4 separate regions of the Homo sapiens genome follow, and all the other regions are linked to region 1. Evidence: promoter capture Hi-C in 16 types of primary human blood cells and fetal thymus (Javierre and others, 2016). All regions are on one chromosome and are shown on one strand. Each heading gives the region's core, a stretch centred on a gene start or on the middle of the fragment in contact. The rest is flanking DNA. Distances are from core to core; before and after follow the strand shown.

What was found. The method cuts DNA at HindIII sites, captures the fragments that hold promoters and counts their contacts. A CHiCAGO score of 5 or more calls a contact.
Region 2: a contact is called between a fragment that was not itself captured here and the fragment with the promoter of PSD in region 1, in 1 of 17 cell types (endothelial precursors). The highest score is 6.4, in endothelial precursors.
Region 3: a fragment that was not itself captured here is called in contact with the fragment with the promoter of PSD in region 1 in 1 of 17 cell types (endothelial precursors); the score reaches 6.0 in endothelial precursors.
Region 4: a fragment that was not itself captured here is called in contact with the fragment with the promoter of PSD in region 1 in 2 of 17 cell types (megakaryocytes and M1 macrophages); the score reaches 6.0 in megakaryocytes.

What each region holds. Positions count from the first base shown.
Region 1 is chr10:102,417,160-102,420,247 of GRCh38, reverse strand. It overlaps PSD (pleckstrin and Sec7 domain containing), which reads left to right and starts at 1,463. Exons shown (of 17, transcript NM_002779.5): 1 at 1,463-1,547. The HindIII fragment of the contact is 10,611 bases long and covers 1-3,088 here.
Region 2 is chr10:102,184,888-102,187,975 of GRCh38, reverse strand. No RefSeq gene overlaps it. Among named protein-coding and RNA genes, the nearest start is that of NOLC1, 34 kb to the right of the region's middle. The HindIII fragment of the contact is 2,363 bases long and covers 427-2,789 here.
Region 3 is chr10:102,204,162-102,207,249 of GRCh38, reverse strand. No RefSeq gene overlaps it. Among named protein-coding and RNA genes, the nearest start is that of ELOVL3, 21 kb to the left of the region's middle. The HindIII fragment of the contact is 4,323 bases long and covers 1-3,088 here.
Region 4 is chr10:102,599,383-102,602,470 of GRCh38, reverse strand. It overlaps SUFU (SUFU negative regulator of hedgehog signaling), which reads right to left. Exons shown (of 12, transcript NM_016169.4): 8 at 2,927-3,038. Among named protein-coding and RNA genes, the nearest start is that of TRIM8-DT, 42 kb to the left of the region's middle. RefSeq lists an enhancer at 1,969-2,719. The HindIII fragment of the contact is 3,650 bases long and covers 14-3,088 here.

The DNA of each region.
Region 1 (3,088 bases), core at 214-2,713:
TGCCTTCCCCCATCATCCACGGGATGGGTGTGGGGGGATGTGAAGGACGCGAGAGCCACTGCACCGCTGACGGTCTGGCGCTCCGGTGCAACCGCTTCAGCTGGCTCATCACAACGAAAACCACTTCTCATCTGTTATCTCGTCAAGGCTTCGGGCACCTCTGAAAGGTGGGCAGGTCTATGCTATCAGTCCATTTTAAAGATGGGGAAACCGAGGCCCTGGAGAGGAAGCCCCTTGTCCAGAATCAAGCCAGACGGGAATAGAGAACCCAGACATCTGGTTTTCCCAGAATTCCTTCCACGTTTCCCCACCCCGCAAGGCAGCGAGAAGGGAGAAGCTAGCAGCGGGGAGAGACAAGAAAGGGGTCAAGTTAGGTGAGGGCTTGCTATCTCTTCTTCCTCAGCCTGCTTAGGGAGGGGGTAGCTGGGAGGACAGACCCCTGCAAAGATAGAGCCACGTGAGCGCGCACCACCTCCGGCCGCGCGCCTCGTCCCCCTCCCCTCTTTGTTCGCGCCTCTGCGCCTGCGCAGTGCGACAAATCTGGCGCTGTCCCCTTCAGCACCACGCGGAGTCCGCGCCGCCCCTCCCCGCGGTGAGCCCCGCGCGCCCCCGCCTCGCACGTCCTCGCGCCCCCTGACTGCCCGAACAGACCCCTTCTTCCTTCCGAGGTCACCATCTGCCCGCCCTGGCCCTCCCAAAGAGAGTAGTTGCCATAGTAACTCCAGCGGCTCTTTCTTAAAATAGCAGGGCCCCCTTCTACCCTGGCCAAGGGCACAAGGGTTGCCGGTCCCCCACGTCTTCCGGTCCCTAGTTCATCCCGTCTAACCTCTTACCCCTGGGCAGGCGTGACGACACCTAACTCAGGCAGCAAGGAAGTTCTTCCTGAAGTCTGATTTAACATCCCCCTGCTGCATCCTGGGAGGGTGGTCAGGGTTGGATCTCCTGGGTCCGAGACTCAAAACCCCTGGCGGGTTCAAGACGGTGTTCCCTAGATCTCCTTTCCATAGTTGATGGTCTCCTGGATTTAGGGGGCGGGTCCAGTCTACACCCATACCGTGTGCTTGGCGCGGCCGCGTGCTCGTGGGGGCGGGAGCGCGTGTGGCATGTAACAGGTCATGTGGCAGCCTCCTAGGGACACGCGTGGGGTCTGGAGCGGGACACGCGTGTGCAGCCGGGCCTTACGTGTGGCTCAAGGGGCGGTGGGCGAGAGAGACGTGGACACAAGTGGGGTGGGGCACGTGAGGGTCTGGGGAATAGAACCAGGGGTTCCATGCGCCCTCCTCCTTGTCTGGGGCGGGTCTTAGGTTGGCGGGAGAGCCCAGCGGGGACCTAGCGACAAGGGGGGCTGGCAGCCTCCGGGGCTCTGGGCCCTGGGAGAGGGCGGGGGGTGGGGGGGATTAGCGTTGCCTGAGCGGCGCGTAGGGGGTAGGGGGAGGGACTGAGAGGCGGGCGGGCCTGGAGCAAACGGGAGCCGCGCTGCCTTCACAGCTCAGCTGGGCCCAGCCTCTCCTCTGTCTCTCCTCGGTCTCAGCTCTGGGCGAGCAGCGGTGAGTACTGAGGTGGCATTGAGTTGGGGCTGCACCGGGTATGCGCTGGGACCCCGTTGAGCTTCCGGAACCTGCCTGGCAGGGTTGCTACTCCTGACCTCTGCCCCTCCCCTGCATTGCCACCAGAGGCCCCTTTACCTGGTTATGGTCTCTCCTGGGCGGGATCTGTCTTACCCCTGGGGAGAGAGGGAGAGGAGAGGAATATGGGTGCAGATTCCCCTCAAGAGACCCCAGTAGGTGGGGGGGAGGGGACGGTGTGTGTCCCTGCTTGAGTGTGTACATCTGTATGTGTACATCTGTATGTGTATGTGACTGTGAGCAGTAGGTCTCTGTGAGTGTCTGATACACCTGGACCTCTGTGTGCACTGGAGAATGACAGCTTGTGTATATATTTGGGTACCTCTTTGTGTGTTCCTGTTTGATGATGGTGTGTGTGTAAAACAAGCATGTGCCTTTTCATTACACACATACTTGTTATGACTGTGAGAGTGCATGAGGGTGTGTCTTTGAGCAGTGTGTGTGTGTGTGTGTCTGTGTGTGTGCCAGAGGGTGTTGCCTATGAATGTGTTTAACTGTGTACTGACATATTTGTCCTTATGTATGTGTGTGCGTGTGTGTGTGTGTGTGTGTGTGTGTGTGTTTGTGTGTGTGTAGGTGCCTGTCTGTACCTGTATGAAGAAAAGAATGTCCCTGGCCGGGTGCGGTGGCTCACGCCTGTAATCCCAACACTTTGGGAGGCCAAAGTGGGTGGATCCCCTGAGGTCAGGAGTTTGAAACTAGCCTGGACAACATGGTGAAACTCCATCTCTACTAAAAATACAAAAATTAGCCAGGCATAGTGCTGAGCGCCTGTAATCCAAGCTATTCAGGAGTCTGAGGCAGGAGAATCACTTGAACTTGGGAGGCGGAGGTTGCAGTGAGCTGAGATAGCGCCATTCCACTCCAGCCTGGGCAGCAGGGGCGAAACTCCATCTCAAAAAAAAAAAAAAAAAAGAAGAATGTCCCTTTCCCACTCAGTATGTATATATTGGGGGTAGGAGCCTCTGCTCAGGCTTTTCTCCCCACTTCCATGCTGTGCCTCTCAGCCCTTCAGCATCCCTATATAACACCTGTTCCTCTTCCCTCTCCTTCCAGGAGGCCTGAGTTTCCCTTCCCTGAGTGAGGGGCCTCCATAAGAGAGACTATAGGGGTCACAGGGCTGTATGATGGTGACAGCTGGCTGACACCCCTTTTCCAGAGGGTGGGGTACCAACTTCCCCTATTCTAGAAGTAGCTCCAAAGTGCCATAAGAACTCCGGGCTCACTCAACTTTGAAGTTGCTTCCTCTCTCCTCCCAGGGTGATGCTCAGGGCCTCAGGCAGAAGGAAAGGAGCCAGGGGCCCACTGGGTGTATAAGTCTTTTCTCGTCAGGCCTCTATGGAAGTAGTCCCCAGGCGTGGGATCAATGATCCCATATTACCAGGGTGTGCTAGGTCCCTGATACTCAGAGGCCCTAGCCAACTTTCCCTTCCCTATCTCTGCTGTCCTATCCATCTAACTCC
Region 2 (3,088 bases), core at 359-2,858, 230 kb after region 1:
CATCCAGTGATCCCGTAATACTACTTTTCAAAAAATTTTCATGAAGATCATTTGTTTTGGCTGGGTTTATAATTTTATAACCTTCTATGCCAAACCCTGAAACCTCAAAATATCTACCAGAGACAAATATAAAATCCAGACAAAAATGTATGCTCACAATTTTGAAGACATTTTTATTTTCATTTTACCAATAATTTTACAGCCAGCTGGTTTCGAAAAAATTTACTTAACTCACACGAACTTGAAAATTGCTTTGACTTATTTAATTTATGAGTGCTGTTTTACTTATAAGCCAATTTGGTAGACACAACATATACCAATAAGGGTACATACAAATAAACACATCTAAACATGAATATACACACATAAACAAAGATCCAATAGCTTTTACCTTGGAACTATAGCTATGAGATAGCAATACAAGCTTACTGGTTTTACATGGTTACACTTTGTCCCAGTAGGTAATTCAGTGAAGGCTGTGAATCAAAATTTTGGGTATAGTAGTTTCCATGGCAGTTTGATTTTTAAAGGCCAAACCTCCTCAGACTCCAAAGAACATTGGGGTCAAACAGCAACAAAGGAGAACATCACATACCTGCCAGGCCCAACCTTGCTTAGAACAGCAGCACAAAAGCCTGGATACACACAACTCCATCCCACTTTCCCATTCAGCAGCAAACTCCAGATTCCAAACAGCAAACGCCAGATTCCAAACAACACTGGGGCCAACAGTATTGCAAATGAATATCAGTTTACCGAATTCTAACTTCTCATGACTATATAAAACACACACAAATGATCACCAAAACACAATCCAACTGCTGCAGCAAAAAACAAGCCCCAAGAGTGTCCAAACTCAAACAGTCAGGGTGCTTCCTCTCTTCATTGGTTGGGCTTGATCAAATGCAAACAAAAATTCCTTAGGAAATTTCCCAAATTGAGAGGAACTGATCCCGCTGTCTGGTACACACACGAGGCACTCACTTGCCCAGACACAACATACAATTATAAACTAGCCCCCAAGAGTGTCCACATAAAAACAGTCAGGGTGTTTCCCTCCCTCAGTCAGTTGGGCTTGTTCAACCTGCAAATGAAAATTCTTTTAAAAATTTCCCAAATTGAGAGGAGCAAATCCTGCTGTCTGGGCCCACAAAGGATACTCACCTATCTGGATGCAGATGTCCAATTTCGAAGGCTATTCTTCCAAGGCAATCAGGAGGATGGTTGGGGCTGACCATGGTGGGGCCAGAGAGAAACTGAAACTCACTTCCAGCTGATATTGGTCAATAGATGGGCATGGTGCATGCCTGTAGTCCAGCTACTGGGGAGGCTGAGGCAGGAGAATAACTTGAACCTGGTGAAGTGGCTACATTGTCTGGGGTATATGCCCTCAGGTATATATTTATCATTGTCACAGGCCAGGAAAATTTAGGACACAGACACACACAAGGGGTTTAGGAGCAGAGGTTTAATAGGTAGAAGAGAAAAGAGAAATAGCTTCCTCTATAGAAGAAGAGGTCTCCGAATGGAAAGGACTGGCTGGTAGTGAAGACACCAGTTTGAGGAGGCAGTGTCTGATTTAGTGTGGACTGTTTTAATGTGTCTTGATTTACATAGGGCTCACAGATTGGTTTGATCAGCTATGACGTTTACATAGTGCTCAGGAAAGGCTGGTTGCCCCACCCTAATCTTGTTACGCAAATGGCCTTTCCAGTTGATCGACACCATCTGTTTTTTTTTTCTTTTTCTTTTTTTTTTTTTTTTTTTTTGAGACAGAGTTTTGCTCTCGTTATCCAGGCTGGAGTGCAATGGTGCGATCTCAGCTCGCTGCAACTTCTGACTCCCCGGTTCAAGCAATTCTCCTGCCTCAGCCGCCTGAGCAGCTGGGACTATAGGCGCCCACCACCACGCCCAGCTAATTTTTATATTTTTAGTAGAGGCGAGGTGATCGACACCATCTGGTCTGCTCCTTACAGTACACATGACTGGCAGAGAAGGGAAGATGAAGTCGCTATCTTGAACATGTCTACTCCTTAGTTCCTGCTGGCATTCACCCTTGCAAACTCCCAGGTTTCAGGCTGCTCTTTGTTAGAAAATGATTTGGGGCAGCTTTTCATTAAAAAAGAAAAAGAAAAGCCTTACTGAGGATTCCCGTACCCTGGCTATCTGCCCAAGTGATTTCTTCTGACTCCTATAGCACTGGGAGGCAGAGGTTGCAGTGAGCCAAGATTGTGCCACTGCACTACAGCCTGGGTGACACTGTGAGACTCCATCTCAAAGGAAATAAAATAAAATAATAAAATAAAATAAAATTTGTCAGGCAGCTGCATAAGAGGGCTTCTGAGACTCCACCCATGGCAGCTGAGCCACAAGCAACATGTTCCCAGTCAGGGAACCAAAATATGTTATTGAAACATCAGGGGTTCAGTCTAGGTCCTACAGCTCGCTGCACAGAAAGCCAATGACTGAGATGACAAGTATTGCCAAGGAAGAAGGCTTTAATCGGGTGCTGCAGCTGAGAAGATGGGAGCTCAAAACCTCAAATCCATCTCCCTGATCAACTAAAACAAGGGTTTTATACAGAGGGGAAGAAATGTAATGTGTAAGAAAACAGGAAGTAGGGAGGGCCAAGGAAGTAATCATGATGAATGAGGGGTCCAAAGTCTCATTGTCTGGATGTAGTGATCTGGTGAGTTTCAGTTCATTGATACTTTTTTTTTGCGGGGGAGAAGCCTGAAGGTCATTTACTAATGAAGGAACTCAAATAAAGCAAATATAAGTTTCAAGCTTTAAGACCAGAAAGATAAATTTTTATGTTTATCCAAAACAATAGTCTCTGGAACTATTGGGTTGATTTCATTTGTTTGTTTTTTACCTTTTAAGTTCAGGGGTACATGTGCAGGTTTGTTATATAAGCAAATTTGTACTTGTCACAGCGGTTTGTTGTACAGATTATTTCTTCACCCAAGTATAAAGTCTAGTATTAGTTATTTTTTCTGATCCTCTCTCTCCTCCCATCTTCCACCCTCCAGTAGGCTCCAGTGTCTGTTGTTCCCCTCTTTGTGCCAATGTGTTCTCATCATTTACC
Region 3 (3,088 bases), core at 155-2,654, 210 kb after region 1:
TCTTTAGCCTGGATTACTTCAGTAACCTTAACCTAGAGTCTAGTTTCTTTTTTTTTTTTTTTGAAACGGAGTCTCGCTCTGTCGCCCAGGCTGGAGTGCAGTGGTGCAATCTCGGCTCAGTGCAAGCTCCACCTCCCGGGTTAACGCCATTCTCCTGCCTCAGCCTCCCGAGTAGCTGGGACTACAGGCGCCCGCCACCACGCCTGGCTAATTTTTTGTATTTTTAGTAGAGACGGGGTTTCACCGTGTTAGCCAGGATGGTCTCAATCTCCTGAACTCGTGATCCACCTGCCTTGGCCTCCCAAAGTGCTGGGATTACAGGTGTGAGCCACTGTGCCCGGCTAGTCTTGTTTCTTTACAGCTGCCAAAGTGTCTTTGTTTTGTGTGATGAAAATGTATAACATAAAATTTGCCATTTTAACCATTCTTTTTTTTTTTTTTTTTTTTTTGAGACGGAGCCTAGCACTGTCGCCCAGGCTGGAGTGCAGCGGCACGATCTCGGCGCAATGCAACCTCTGCCTCCCAGGTTCACGCCATTCTCCTGCCTCAGCCTCTCTAGTAGCTGGGACTACAGGCACCCACCACCACGCCTGGCTAACTTTTTTTGTATTTTTAGTAGAGACGGTGTTTCACCATGTTAGCCAGGATGGTCTCGATCTCCTGACCTCGTAATCCACTTGCCTCGGCCTCCCAAAGTGCTGGGACTACAAGCATGAGCCACCATGCCTGGCCCCTTTTAACCATTCTTTTTTTTGTTGTTTTTTTAAATTATATTTTAAGTTTTAGGGTACATGTGCACATTAACCATTCTTAAGTGGCATTAATTACATTCATAATGTACAACCATCACTACTGACTAGTTCCAAAACTTTTTCATCACTCCAAACAGAAATTCTGTACTTGTGAGGCAACAGCTAACCATTGCACCTTCCCTCTGGCTCCTGGTAAGCTCTCATCCACTTTCTGTCTGTATTAATTTGCCTATTCTAGGCATTTCTTTTTTTTTTTTTTTTTTTTTTGAGACGGAGTTTCACTCTTGTTGCCCAGGCTAGAGTGCAATCGCGTGATCTCAGCTCAGTGCAGCCTCCACCTCTGGGTTCAAGTGATTCTCCTGCCTCAGGCTTCCCAAGTAGCTGGGATTACAGGCGCCTGCCACCACACCTGGCTAATTTTTGTATTTTTAGTAGAAACGGGGTTTCACCATGTTGGCCAGGCTGATCTCGAACTCCTGACCTCAGGTGATCCACCCGGCTTGGCCTCCCAAAGTGCTGGGATTACAGGCATGAGCCACCACGCCTGGCCTTTTTTTCTTTTTTTTTTTTGAGACAAGGTCTCACTCTTGTCACCCTGGCTGTAGTGCAGTGGCACACCTCACTGCAGCCTCAACCAGCCAGGCTCAAGCGATCCTCCCACCTCAGCCTCTTGAGTATCTGGGATTACAGGTGTGGACCACCACTAATTTTATTTTATTTTTATTTTTATTTTTTTAGATAGAGTTTCACTCTTGTTGCCCAGGGTGGAGTCAACGGCACGATCTTAGCTCACTGTAACCTCCACCTCCTGGGTTCAAGTGATTCTCCTGCCTCAGCCTCCTGAGTAGCTGAGATTACAGGCATGCACCACCATGCCCAGCTAATTTTTATATTTTTAGTAGAGACAGGGTTTCACCATGTTGATCAGGCTGTTATCAAACTCCTGAGTTCAGGTGATCTGCCTGCCTTGGCCTCCCAAAGTGCTGGGATTACAGATGTAAGCCACTGCATCTGGCCTAAGGTTTGTTAATTTTGTTGAACATTTTTTTTTTTTTTTGAGACAGAGTCCCTCTCTGTCGCCAGGCTGGAGTGCAGTGGCACTATCTTGGCTCACTGCAACCTCCACCTCCCGGGTTCAAGTGATTCTCCTGCCTCACCCTCCCAAGTAGCTGGGACTACAGGCACACACCACCATGCCCAGCTAATTTTTGTATTTTTAGTGGAGATGGGGTTTCACCATATTGGCTAGGATGGTCTCAATCTCTTGACCTCGTGATCCGCCCACCTCAGCCTCCCAAAGTGCTGGGATTACAGGCGTGAGCCATCGAGCCCAGCCTTTTGTTGATCTTTTCAAACAAACAACTTTTGGTTTTTATTGATTCTCTCTATTGTTTTCTCTATTTCTTATTTCATTTATCTCTGCTCTAGTCTTCATTTCTTTCTTTCTGCTACCATTTGTTTTTCTTTTTCTACTTCCTTAGATTGTAAAGTGTGGTTGTAGATTCAACATCTTTCTCCCTTTTTCTTTTTTTTTAAATTTTTTATTGATATATAATATTTGTACATTTTTATGGGGTGCATGTGGTATTTTGTTATATGCATAGCATATGTAATGATCAAGTCAGGGCATTTAGGGTATATGCCATTGTGAAAAAACATTTAAATGGTTCATTTTCAGGGCATGATAAATCTATGTACTAGCAGCCACCCTGCAGATGTGACAAACTGAATGGCTCATGCACCTAGAAAATCATCATAAGAGAACAAGATGTAGAAGAAGGGTCAGCCCATAAAAGGTGAGAAAGTTTCATTATTGGGAAGTTGAAACATAGGCAGGGAAGGGGACCAGAGTATAACCTTATAAGGGGATAATGAAACTTAGGTGACGTCTGGGAAGATTGTAACCCTGTAGTACTCAACCAGTAAGGAACTGGGGGAAAGACTTGCATGCTAGGAGATAAATTACCTGCTGTAACTGCCCCAGGTGTGCCTGCCTACCAGACATCTGATCTTGCAAGATTGCCATTAAAAGTCTTGCTTCTGCTGCACTTCCTGTCTCTGAGTCCATTATTTGATTTTGGACAGGTGAGCGTTTCTCACAAACTTGGGGGCTCATCCAGGATCTCTGTGCCTGCATGGAATGGGACTCCAGCCAAGAGGGGAGACACATCTCACCCAATTTTAGGTGGCCCGCTCTGTGCAGGTGTCCCAGCTCCCCACATAGGCCATAGACAAACCTGAGATTGTTATTCAGCAGGCAGCAGAGGTGACATAGGGAGAAAAGCAGACACTATGGCAACCAGGCAACCTTGTGCATGAGCCAAGGTAGGAAAACC
Region 4 (3,088 bases), core at 589-3,088, 180 kb before region 1:
AGCCCAATAAGCTTCTAATATGAGGCTTTGGCCTTGTCCTTGGTGCCATGTGAGAGGTCCTGATTCATGCTGCAACTAGTTAGATGAATTCTACCAGTAAAGGTCATTATTTTCTCAGAGACACAGTCTGATGTGTCCCCCATGGGGTCCCTGAGAATGGGGTAAGGAAGATTACATCCATTTTAATGGCTGATAGATGGCTGTAACTAAGCTCTACCCCTTTCCAACCTTGGAAAAGATACTTATTAGCCTCTCTGTACCTCATCCATTAAAGGGGAATATGTAAGATTATCGACCACAGGATGGCTATGAGGATAAGATAAATGAATGGCAGCACATAGTAGCTGGCACATTACCTAGCACAGAATGAGCACTAATAAGGTTTTAGCTGCTGCTGAAGTGTGAAAAGAGCAAGTGCTTGACACCCCCAAGTAGGCCGGCACCCGGCTGCTATTGCCCAGGCTTGATCAGCTGCTCTGAGCCTCTGATTTAGCTCTGTATCTTCCTTAGACCACAGACAAACCCGCGAAGACCCATGCATAAGAGCTCCCTGGCCCAGAAGTCCTGACTAAGGGGAAATCAGACCCGCAGACAAAATATGGCCCACGCTGGCTGCCCCCCAACAGGGAGAGGAGCAAACACTGGTGCCAGCACATTTTGGGTCAGCTTTCTCAGTTGCAATCCATGTGGTGTATGTGAAATGGGGTCAGGTCCCAGAGTGGGCAGCACAGATATTACCGTCACGCTCACTGATCTGAACTGAGTCCATCATCATCGATCCTGAGATAACAGGAAACTTGAGTCTGACAGGCTTGAGGGGTGTGTTGGAGAATGTTCTTGGCAAAGGAGGAGGAGAAACCATTTCTCAACCAATTGCTAACAAATTGGTAACCAATACTGACAGCCTCAGAGGAAACATTCTATTCCCCTCAGACTACAGGTCCTGGTGCTTTAGAGACCTTACTGGGCACTAAACCTTCAGGAAGGGGAGACAACCCCGGCACCTCGAATCTATTCTCACCCATCTCTCTGTATCTCAGCCAACTCAAGCCAAAGGGTAGAAGCTGCAGCCTCTCTGCCTTATGTTTACAGAGAACCCTTGGGCCAGAACCAATACCCGACTGCCCAGTTAGGGTGTAGGCTGAGAGTCTCGGCTTATGTGTATATCTAGGAGCACAGAGCCTTGTGCCCCATTGCAATGTCCAGGGGTGCAGTAGCTGGAAGTGCCCCCAAGCCAGGGAGTGAGATCTCAGGCCTGTTCCAGATACACAAGCGGGGCAAGAAGGTTGTATCTCTGCAGGAGCTTGTGCCCTTCTGCCTAGAAACCCCAGGCTTCCAGAGGCAGAGAGCCATCTGGACTGAGACTGTGTCCATGTTATAGGCCTTCCAGTACCTCTGGCCTGCCAACAGTGCCAAGGAGGCCCAAAGCGAGAAGCCAAGCTCAGGGAATGGGAAGGAGTGTAGACCCGGGACAGGGTCCAGACTCACAGGTAGAGAGCTTCCATATGTCGTATGACCTGGTGTGGCCATCTGCTGCTGCCAGGGGATGATCAGGATGCCTCCAGCCAGCTACTTCAGGGCAGCTGGCTGGAGAAACCTACAGGCCGGAGTTAAAAGCTGCTCTGAGGTGGCGGTGGAGGCTTCTCCAGGCTTTTGCCAAAGAGCTCAACTCTCAGTACAGCCCTGTTCCCAGAGTAACTCTAGTTCCAGTCAGGTCCCAGCAGGCAGCCTCAACTTTAACCAGCCAGGCCTCCCCTGTGCTATCCTCTTGAGTTCCTTCCCCTGCTTATTAAAATTCTAAGGTGCCCTCAAGGTCGATGCTATGTTCTTCCTCCTCCAAGATGCCCTCCCTAACTACCCCAGATCCTGTGGACCTGTCTTTTCTGTAGTGCACTGAAGCATTACTACTTCTGGGAAACACGATCAGCAACTAGAGCTAGAATCCAGAGAAGCAGCCATTTCCAACAAATCACATCGACAGCCAGATGCACACCATTAAAAGGTAACTGTTTCACTCATGTTCTCCCAAAGGAAGAGCCTGTGCACCCCAGATGGCCCCCTAGGTCCGAGCTTGTCAGACAGCAAATGTGTAATAAAGACTTCATAGAAGAAGGCTAGATCACCCTGGTCTTGCAGGATGATCAACCTCCCTTTCAGCCCAAGGCACAGCAATTTCCTCCCTGGCAGGCAAGGTTCCTGCTTTGGGCTGCCAGCCCCCAGGTATCTCCTGCCAGCAGCTATTCCCTAGAGCTGCCCTGGGACTAAGGGCAGAGGGGGGTGCCCAGCTTCAGCCCTGCCTATCACTCATCCCCTCTATCAGAGGAAGAGAGGTTGGCAGGAAGCGGATCTGACCTCTAGGGTGGCCACAGTCTCTCCGGAGGGCTACAGGGGCCCCTGGACAGGCAGCAGAGGCCTGCAAAAGACTTCCTTTCCCTTCCCTGGGCCCCAGGGAAGAGAGGCAGGAAGAAGGGCCTCAGCCACAGGCATCCAGTATGGGGCTGGCCAGAGAGGGAGGCCCCCAGGGTTGCAGCTATCAGCCGGAGACCAGGCTCCAGGAAGGAAGGAAGGGCAACTCTGGCCAAGACTGAGATAAGGAGGGAACCGTGCTCAGCACAATGGGCTCCCACAAGGCTGGGAGGCCCCAAGTCAGATTTCTCCCCAACCTGGCCTCCTGTCTGTTCACACGGCTCATGTAAATATTTACTGATGTTAATATTCACGGTCTGCTGGGTCCCCTCTGAGGCCCTCTCCTATGACCCACAGATAGATCTGTGTGCCCCAGACCATGCCTGCCCTTAAGCCTAGAGATCCTGGGCCCATCCAGCAAGGGCTATGTGCATTGTTCTCTCTCATGCAATCCACAGGGACAGGCCCTTCAGAAAAAAGTCGTCCTCTTGTTCCAGCCCAGGGACACTGGGGAACTTACGGGGCCCGGTCGTGGGCGAGGCCATTCTGCCGCTGAGGGTTGATTGGTGGAAGGACAGGTTTGCTGTTGATCTCGAGTCCTCTCCTCAGGGTCTCCCGGATCTGCTCTGTGTCTGCAACGACACCACTAAGTTGCCCAGTGGCCCAGTGGGCTCCCAGCAAT